3 separate regions of the Homo sapiens genome follow, and regions 1 and 2 are each linked to region 3. Evidence: promoter capture Hi-C in 16 types of primary human blood cells and fetal thymus (Javierre and others, 2016). All regions are on one chromosome and are shown on one strand. The core of a region is centred on a gene start or on the middle of the fragment in contact, and the rest is flanking DNA. Distances in the headings are between cores, read along the strand shown.

Region 1 (3,373 bases), core at 789-3,288, 1.6 Mb before region 3:
GTTGTAGATGACAGTTATTTATATAAACACTGAAAATGTTTTTTAATAGAAGCAGAATCAAGAAAGTTGGTTTTTACACAATTTTTTAACTTCTATACATTTTTATAACTAGTTCATAGACCACTTTCATCTGTCTCATTTGATCATGGACAGTATGATGTGGAAAAAACACAGGATGGTCAGAGGATCAAAGGAAGTCACTTAGCCTCTCTGTGCCTCAGTGTCTTAAGACAGTCTTTTAAAAAGGCATCTCTTTATAGATAAGGAGTTAAAATTAAGTTAAATGTCAGATCCTGGCTTACAGAGCAAGTGATTTAGTGATTGTCAGAACTGAAGCTTCACCATTACTTTAACTATATTGAGCCAGAAATAGTTAAGAACTAAATGGCCCATAAAAATATATGAGGGGGGTCACATGGAAAAAAGTAGAGATTTGGAACTTAGGGAACCAAAATTATGAGAGCATATAAGCCCTTCCACTAATGAGAATTTAGAAGTGCAAATGGGTCCAGGTTGGTACAAATGCTTTAACTCTCATATGCCCAGGGGAAATAGTGGTTTTTTTAAATATTCTTTTAGTCTTTTACAAATAATTTTTAGAAATAATAATGGGAGATAGTGCAAAACAACTTTATTAGGAATTTTAATGTGAATTTAACAATAGCAAACCGAAATTTATATTCTTTGTTTTCCTGATTTTGATGTACATATAGTCATCCTTCAGTATGCTAAATGTGGGGGATTGGTTCCAGGACCCACCCACCTCTTTGGCAAATCTTGCATACTCAAGTTCTGCAGCCAGCCCTGTGGAACCTGAGAATAGGAAAAATCAGCCTTCCATATACTTGGGATGGATCTGCATTTGGTTGAAAAAAATCCACTTATAAGGGACCCTTGAAGTTCAAACCTGTCTCGGATTTGCATCATCAAAATACAATACTTGAGGAATTTTTGAAACCTATTGCTTACAATTTTGTAATTGTCATCCTTGCTCCATAATTGCAAAACATTTTTATTTTTAGATTATAAACTTAATTAGAATGATAAATTCGGTGAATATTTTTATTTCATTTTCCTTCCAGTCACCTTGTGTACACATCTGCCTTCACCCTTTGTCCATTTGCAACCAAATCAAGTAAATTTTGATGCATAAACATTGTAAAAGATGAGATAAAACACTCACACCTCCTTTTAGAAAATGGGATGATCCTGGCTCTTACTGTGAAATATTGCAAGATGAAGTCCTTCCTGCTGATGGCTCTCCCAGTGAGAGTACATTTCTTGTTTGTCTTTTTTTTCTTTTTCTTGTCAATTCTTGGGTGGGAGAAAAGCCTTCTAATATTTCCTCATCCAAAAACTCATAGTCTGAGATTTTTGCAGTTAATTTTATCATGATTAGTCTAGAATACGACTGCCTTTCATTTTGCATTCACCTTCTTCGTCTAATAATGATTAATGCCTTCTGTCAGTTTTTTCTCTTTGCCATTATGAATGGAAAATGAAAAATTGTGAATTCCCATCGGTGTTCAGTGAAAGCTAAAAGTAGACAACAGGTATGATGTCTTGAAAGATGATGATGAAATACTTTGGACAATACAATGAGAAAACTAATATCTTAAAAACTATTTAGTTATTTTTAGCATAGTTGAGAATAATGAATTATAAATAATGAATTATAAATAATGAACTATTAAAAACTATTAAAAAACAACAGTTTTTACATTTGTTTCAAAATGTAGGGAAAAAATACGCTCACTAGGATTCCATCATATTTCTTAGATTTATAAGAGTTCAGTGGACTCATTTGATAATTGCAAGATAGCATGAGTTTTAGTCTGTTCTTTTAAAAAATAAGTTTTCTCTTTGTTCTTTGGAAGACTTTTAAGAAAGAATAAAAGTAATGACATCTCAATCCTAACAAGTAACTAGAACTGCTAAAAAAAAAAAAAAAAAGGCAACTGAAAAGTTAAAATTTTCTCTCTTAAAAGTTAGCTCACTGATAAAGGCAGAATTTTTAACTTCAACTAACAACTGTGGCTGCCATCTAAGTTCAGAGTACTAGGTGCTCTAGGACCCTACCCTGCGAGGCAGTGGGTCTCAAAGTGTGGTCCCCAGATAAATAGCATCAGCAATCATTTAAGAATTTGTTGAAATTCAAATCCTAGAGCTCCACCCCAGACCCGCTGAATCTCTGGGGCTGTAGCCCTGCAGTCTGTTTTAACAAGCCCTCTAGGTGACGCTGATAGAGGCAAACTTTTGAGACTCAGCTCTGGCTGTAGGAGAACTAAAGGATTCTGCTGTGAGGTAATAGAAAAGGAGTAAATTTGAATGTGATGAATATGCTTAACTTCCTAAGCAAGAAAAATGAACGCTGTTTATAGTTACAACTGACAGGGGAAAAAAACTTGAGAGTTACAGGTAGACTTTAGATTTCGTAATACTTATTTTTATGCAAAAAAAATTTAATCAACCAATTTTTTTTCTAGCTGGGATCTAGCAATTGGGAGGCAGCAGACTTGGGTAATGAAGAGAGAAAACAAAAGTTCTTGAGACTTATGGGTGCAGGAAAGGTAAGCATCAGATGGTGTGCATTTTTACCTTTTCTGTGAAAATATTGCCATTTTTATGTATGCTAAGTAAGAAGGACTGAATATACTTGGATTCCATTTTCCTGTTCTGTGTGATTTCTTTTGGCTTTGGGAAATACATGTGGCCTAACCAAGCACATAAAATTTATATTATTTTTGAGCCACTTCTAGGATTCTCTGTCCGTATAGTTTGAAGACTGTACAGAGAAAAATTTGGTTCAAGGAGGCTGTATAGGAGAAAAGAGATGTCAAAGTTTATGATTTGCCATATGTTGGCCCAGTGGTTTGATAGAATATATTTCTTCTGGGTAGGTTATCTTGTGGGAACCTCTGGCCAAAGTGAAAAGGCTGTCATATTTTATAGCTCCCTCCAGCCCTTGAAGTAGTAACCAGAGGAATATCCTTTATCAAAAACTTAATTTTAAGACTACACTTTCAGAGATTATTTCTATAGTTTGTTACTAGATAGAGAAGTTTCTCTGAATGTGTAGAACACCAGGGGGAAAGAAAACCTTAATTTTAAAAATGTTCAAGATACTTTGAAATGCCTGTCAGTTTGGTTAACGTTAATAGAAGGTACAGTTGACCCTTGAGCAATGTGGGGGTTAGGGGTGCTGGTTCTGCAGGCAGTCAGAAGTTTGCATATAACTTTTGACTCCCCAACAACTTAACTACTAATAGCCTACTGTTGACTGGAAGTCTTACTGATAACATAATTATCAGTTAACACATATTTTGGGTGTTAAATGTATTATATCCTGTATTCTTACAATAAAGAAAAGGAA
Region 2 (2,955 bases), core at 413-2,912, 1.0 Mb before region 3:
ATAAAATTGGGCTTTTGTTACTGAGAAGGAAGGAAAGATTTGGATATTGGCAAGCAAATAGAAGTGTCTGCCATGATATGAATCTTTTTATCTTTCAGCTCTGAAATCTGTAAGCTGTGATAACCACTCATAGAAGCTTCTATAATTTGCCATGGCAGAGATATAAGTCTGACTATTAACTACAGAAGGAAATAATCTTCATGTAATAAATTGTGTTTCTGTTTTTACTTTTAGCCCTTAATTCATTATAGAAGCTTTTCTGTCTTATTTGTGGATTTGTTCTGGTTATTTTTTAAAATTACCCATAAATGCTCAATAGATGTTTGTTGTACATTTTATGGTTGTGTTAAAAAGAGCTAACATTTATTGAGCTACTTGCTATAATCAAGGCACTAAAATGACAGAGATAAGTTATCCCAAGGGTATCACATAACTAATCATCAGGAAGTAAATTTATATTGAAAGTAAATATAATTCATCTCAAGATACATTTCACTATGGTCACATGAGGAACACTTGCCTTCCTTGCTAGCTAAAAGTAGTTTGTTCTTTTTCTTTCCTTTCTTCTTTTTTTAACCACTTAACTGTTAGTTGTCTTGAAATTTTCTCTTACTACTAGTTCTTGCTTAACTTATTTAGCCACACCAATATTTTATTTCCTTCCAGACTTTTATTTTTTTTGTTGAGACGGAGTCTCACTCTTTCACCCACGCTGGAGTGCAATGGCTTAGTGCAACCTCTGCCTCCTATGTTCAAGCGATTCTCCTGCCTCAGCCTCCTCAGTAGCTGGGACTACAGGCATCCACCACCACACCCAACTAATTTTTGTATTTTTAGTAGAGATGGGGTCTCACCATGTTGGCCAGGGTGGTCTTGAACTCCTGACCTCAGGTGATCTGCCTGCCTCAGCCCCCTACAGTGATGGGATTACAGGAGTGAGCCACCGTGCCCAGCCCCTTCCAGACTTTTCTTTGTGAATATTATATAAATATACCCTATACTTGTCCTGCAAAATGGTTCAATTGTCATTATTTCTATTTCAAAAGTAAACTGAAATAAATAGCTTTGAGAAAAAGAAATTCAGGGAATGGAAATTGGAGTGAGAAAGATTCTAAAGATTCAGTCAATCTTTTAGAGTTTTTAGAAGGGAGACAGTAAGTTAAGATTTTATTTCTACACAGTATATTTGTATTTTTGAAAGTTTTTACATTTTTTGGTTGTATTAGATAGGCACAAAGTACAGTAGTTCTTTTGCTGCTAGTATTGCAGTTTCCTTTTTTCTGATCTAGACTTGTTGACCTCAAACAAAATAATCAGGAGACTTGTGACCATAAAAACAACCCAGTTTTTAAGAGACATTTAACGTTATAAATCACCTGACTGAGAATGTCTGTTTGGTGAATACCATTTTCATGACTTTTAATTTTTTTTAATTAACAGAAAAGTATCATGCTATGCATTGTTTTGTAAGCAGCATTTTAAAAATTGCAATTGTATTTAATAGCTTACCTTCCTCACTAGATTGAAGCCCTGTGAGGGTAAGGACTATGTCGATCTCGCTTACCTTTGTCTTCTAGCATAGTATCTGGTACCATAGTCATTACTTAATACATAAATATTAGTTTAGTTTTGTTTTTAGAAACAAAGTCTCAATACATACATACATACATACATACATACTTATAATAGGTTAAAGGAAACATGCTTCAATTCAGCCATTAATTGAAAAGGAAGAGGGGCAAAAGAAGAGGGTTGAGGAAGATGGAAAAAGATACATAAAAGAGGCTGGGCGCGGTGGCTCATGCCTGTAATCCCAGCACTTTGGGAGGCCAAGGCGGGCAGATCACAAGGTCAGGAGATCAAGACCATCCTGGCTAACATGGTGAAACCCCGTCTCTACTAAAAACATACAAAAAAATTAGCCGGGCGTGGCTGGGTGAGGTGGCTCACGCCTATAATCCCAGCACTTTGGGAGGCCGAGGCGGGCGGATCACGAGGTCAAGAGATCGAGACCAGCCTGGACAACATGGTGAAACCCTGTCTTTACTAAAAAAAACACAAAAAATTAGCCAGGCATGGTGGCATGCGCCTGTAGTCCCAGCTACTTAGGAGGCTGAGGCAGGAGAATTGCTTAAACCCAGGAGGCGGAGGTTGCAGTGAGCTGAGATTGCACTACTGCACTCCAGCCTGTGCAACAGAGCGAGACACTGTCTCAAAAAAAAAAAAAAAAAATTAGCTGGGCGTGGTGGCGGGCACCTGTAGTCCCAGCTACTCAGGAGGCTGAGGCAGGAGAATGGTGTGAACCCGGGAGGCGGAGTTTGCAGTGAGCCAAGATCGCGCCACTGCACTCCAGCCTGGGTGACAGAGTGAGACTCCGTCTCAAAAAAAAAAAAAAAAAAAAAAAGATATATAAAGGAGGAACAGAGACTACTTCCAAGGAAAGAGAAAATTTTCAGTTTTCTGTACTTTTCACCCTGGTTATCTATGGTAATTTTTTTTAACCACTTCCAGGATATCTTGCCCAACAATCAAAACAGGAAACCATCACACATACATGCGCGCACGTGTGCGTACACACACACACACACACACACACACACACACAAAGCAAACTTAATCTGTATAACTATGGGTATAAATCAGTAGCTAAGAAATCTGCCTCTGTGTATGAATGGAAATTTTATTTTTTGAGACATGTTCTCACTCTGTCACCCTGGCTAGAGTGCTGTGGCGTGACCATGGCTCACTGCAGCCTCAACCTGCTGGGCTCAGGTGATCTTCCCACCTCATCCCCCACCAAGTAGCTGGGACTACAGGCATGTGCCACCATGCCCAACTAATTTTTGTATTTTTTGTAGAGACAGAGGTTTCACCATATTGCTCAGGCTGGTCTTGAACTCCTGGGCTCAAGGAATCCACCCTCCTTGTCCTCACAAAGTGCTGGGATTATAGGCA
Region 3 (3,230 bases), core at 694-3,193:
CCAACTTCAACTTTATACTTTATGTTTACTCTCCCTGAAATGACTGCTTCCCTTCCAGATTTTCTTATCCAAACATACCCAGCTTTCAAGATCGCACATGAGCCCTACTTCCTAGAATTCTCAAGATGGAAAAAGATTCATAGGTAATTCAGTGAACATGTCCACCTAATTCAGAAATTAGTTTTGCCCTAGATCCCTGAACATTTTCAGCCATGGAAAGAAAGCACTCACTCTCATGAAGCTGCCAATTCCAGTCCTCCAAAGGGCTCACTATTATAAGGTTCTTTTTAATACTATGCTGAAGCCTGATCACTTAGAGCTCTACCATTATTCCTAATTGTATGTAGCTTCTACAGCTGAAGGGAACAAGCTGTCTCTTTCCAAAACAATCCTTCTGTATTTGAAAAGCATTATCAGGTCTTCTAAAAATTTAACATTCCCAGTTTCTTCATCACTCCTGACATGACATTTTCCAACCCTCTGTTCCAGTCAACCTTCTACAGAGGCACTGTAGTTTGCCTAAAAATGAGGTGCCTAGAACTGAGCATAATACTCCTTAAGTAGTTAGATGAGCCCAGAATAGAGTAGAAACACTAACTTCCTGGATCTAGACACTAAGTTTCTATATTACAACCTAAAAACAGTATTAGTTGTGTTTAAGTGGCCATGTTACACATTGATTCAACAGAGCAAGTGGTCAACTAAAACCCAAAGAAATTGTTTACATAAATAAAATCTTCTTAGCCAGTAGCTACATACAGTAGAACTGAGCTCAAATTGAAAGCTGCTATTAATCAAATGCAACAATGGATATAAAAAGTACCTAGAAATGTACAAACAGTATAAAGAGGAACAGCAGAATGCTGATAATTGTTCAAGTTGCGTTAAGTGTACATGAGGGTTCAATTTATTATCCTACTTTTGTCTGCGTTTGAAATTTTCCACAATAAAATTTAAAAAATATATACATAATATTGTACAAGCCTTCAACAGCTCTATTTCTTGAAAATCTGTTATCTCCTCCCTGCTTCTTTTTCCAGCCTTATTTCCCATCTTAACCTCTCTATTCTCCAACTACATTGGACTCGACTCTTTTTTTCTTTTTCATTCCATAAACTTGCTGTGCCTCCATGGTTTAATATATGATGTTTATGGAATCTTCCCCCATTTACCAAAACCCTACCTTTCTGCAAAGCTGAGTTTAAATGTTACTTCTGTGAAGGCACTCTACCAAAAACTAAGAACATAGAAGTTGGCGACAAATGCTTAACCAAAGTAAATGAAACAACTTTTGGGAGACTGGCTTGCCCAAGGATCACAGAGTTCATAAATGGTAGAGCTGAGATTAGAATACGCGTCTCCTGAATCCAAATCTCATCTTTCCATTATCGTAAAATAGTTCAGTGTTTGTTGCTCACACATCAAATGCAAACATGTTTCTCTTTTGCCCCAGTAGGTGCGTGGAGGAAGAGGAGAAAGAAGTAAGAAAGATAGCAAAAATTGAAGAAATGAGAAGGGGAAGTTGCAGACTGCCTCATTTTCACAATGGGATCTTTCTATCCAAGAAGAAATGATCAGAAAACAACTCTCTGCCTCAGACAAATGGCGACTGACTCATTTATACATTCATTCATTCAACATTCTGAGTGCCTACTATGTTCCAGGACCTGAACACACCGCTAGAGACACAGGGATGAACAAAACACAATCCCTACCCACAAAAAGCTCCTTGCCTAGTGGAACTACTACCTTTTTAACAGCAGTAACTTTAATATCTTGAGATTTCTTGAGAGGAGACCCAGTAACCAATTTTCAAAGCCAGGCTCACAGACCAGCAGCCCGGAGGTCCCAGCCCAGCTCCACCACATCCAGGGCAGTACCTCGCAGCTCTCAGTAGATCGGATCTTGTCTCCCGGCTTAGCGCCGGGGAACTCACCGCGCACTAAGAGCGGAACGTGAACTTCAGTCTCCCCTCGCGTTCCTCCCCTTCCTTGCTGACGTCATCCAGGAGAGCCGCAGACTGGAAACAACGCTACTAACGGCACTTCCTCATCACGTGACGAGTCACGCCCCTCCTTCCGCGTGGTCCCTCCCCCTCAGGCCGCGGTCGCGATTACGCTCTCTACGGCCTGCGACCGCAGGGCCGTTGCGGGCTGGAGACACGGCGCCGACTGGAACCGGAGGAGCTCTAGGCCAAATGGTTGGGCCAGCCAGGATCCCAGGACCCTTCGCCGCTCGAGACCGGAGAGAGGAAACGAAACAGGCGGGAACCCGTGGGGGAGGGAGGGAACTAGCGGAAGGTGTCATGGCGGCCGCGCTCTTGAGTCACGTGCCCAGGGCCCGCCTTGCTACTTCCGGTCACGTGCCCTCAGACTCCTCGCAGCCAGCGATGGAGGCGAGACCCCCTAGTAACAGAGGCGGTGGCTACTGCTGCGGCCACTGGGTTTCGGCCTCTTCCCAGCAGCGGCTCTAAGAAGCGCAGCGGAACTCGACCGGATCCAACCCAGTTAGTTACTTCCTGTCTAGAGTTGTAGCTTCCACCTGGTAAGTTTAGACCGAAGAATGCAGGCGGGCGGGTGGGTGGGCGGGTGAGGAGCTGACAGGCCTGGGGGCCGCTGGACGGCGTGGATTCTACCCCTGTTCCCAGCGTCGCTGTCGCCGTCCTCCCAACGCCCAAGCCTGGCGTCTTGTTTGCCCTTATCCCGAGGCGAGGAAGAGGCGACCCCTAATCTACTTGTCTAAAGGAAACCTGCTCTTAAATTGAGAGCAGGTTTACCCAAAGCCAGGATCAGATTTGGCTTATGAGAATGAAGTGGAGGCCTCTCCCAGACAGAGAAGCCCTTCCCGTCAGGAAATGTGCTGTTGAGTCTGGGATTCTGTAAGAGAAAAGCTGTCACCTTGTTGTCTGCACACCTTTTGCTTCCACCTGTCAATCTTACCTCTCTTAAAAACCTTAACACGTGCCAGTCCACACACTCCTAGTTTTGGTCATTTGATTGTCGTGTAATGATGAAAAATAGACCATGAGTACCTGGATATATGTAATTATTTTGTAAATCCCCCAGTGTTCTCAAAGGCCAAATTAAATAAGGAGGTGACTTTTCTTATTTTTTTTTAAGAGACAGAGTCTTGTTCTGTCGTCCTGGCTGGAATGCAGTGGCGTGATAATAGCTCACTGTAACCTCGAATTCCTGGGCTCAAGCGATTCTCCTGCCTAGACCTCCCAAAGC

The links. The method cuts DNA at HindIII sites, captures the fragments that hold promoters and counts their contacts. A CHiCAGO score of 5 or more calls a contact.
Region 1: a fragment that was not itself captured here is called in contact with the fragment with the promoter of HPS5 in region 3 in 1 of 17 cell types (fetal thymus); the score reaches 6.2 in fetal thymus.
Region 2: a fragment that was not itself captured here is called in contact with the fragment with the promoter of HPS5 in region 3 in 1 of 17 cell types (naive CD4 T cells); the score reaches 5.7 in naive CD4 T cells.

Annotation. Positions count from the first base shown.
Region 1 is chr11:16,742,115-16,745,487 of GRCh38, forward strand. C11orf58 (chromosome 11 open reading frame 58) reads left to right here. Exons shown (of 5, transcript NM_014267.6): 2 at 2,487-2,570. Among named protein-coding and RNA genes, the nearest start is that of C11orf58, 5.2 kb to the left of the region's middle. The HindIII fragment of the contact is 3,409 bases long and covers 335-3,373 here.
Region 2 is chr11:17,283,363-17,286,317 of GRCh38, forward strand. All of the region lies in intron 2 of NUCB2 (nucleobindin 2), which reads left to right. Among named protein-coding and RNA genes, the nearest start is that of NUCB2, 8.1 kb to the left of the region's middle. The HindIII fragment of the contact is 2,821 bases long and covers 253-2,955 here.
Region 3 is chr11:18,320,197-18,323,426 of GRCh38, forward strand. HPS5 (HPS5 biogenesis of lysosomal organelles complex 2 subunit 2) reads right to left here and starts at 1,944. Exons shown (of 23, transcript NM_181507.2): 1 at 1,750-1,944. It overlaps GTF2H1 (general transcription factor IIH subunit 1), which reads left to right and starts at 2,371. Exons shown (of 15, transcript NM_005316.4): 1 at 2,371-2,544. RefSeq lists enhancers at 1,442-2,391, 1,529-2,728, 1,619-1,918, 1,929-2,348. The HindIII fragment of the contact is 9,902 bases long and covers 1-3,230 here.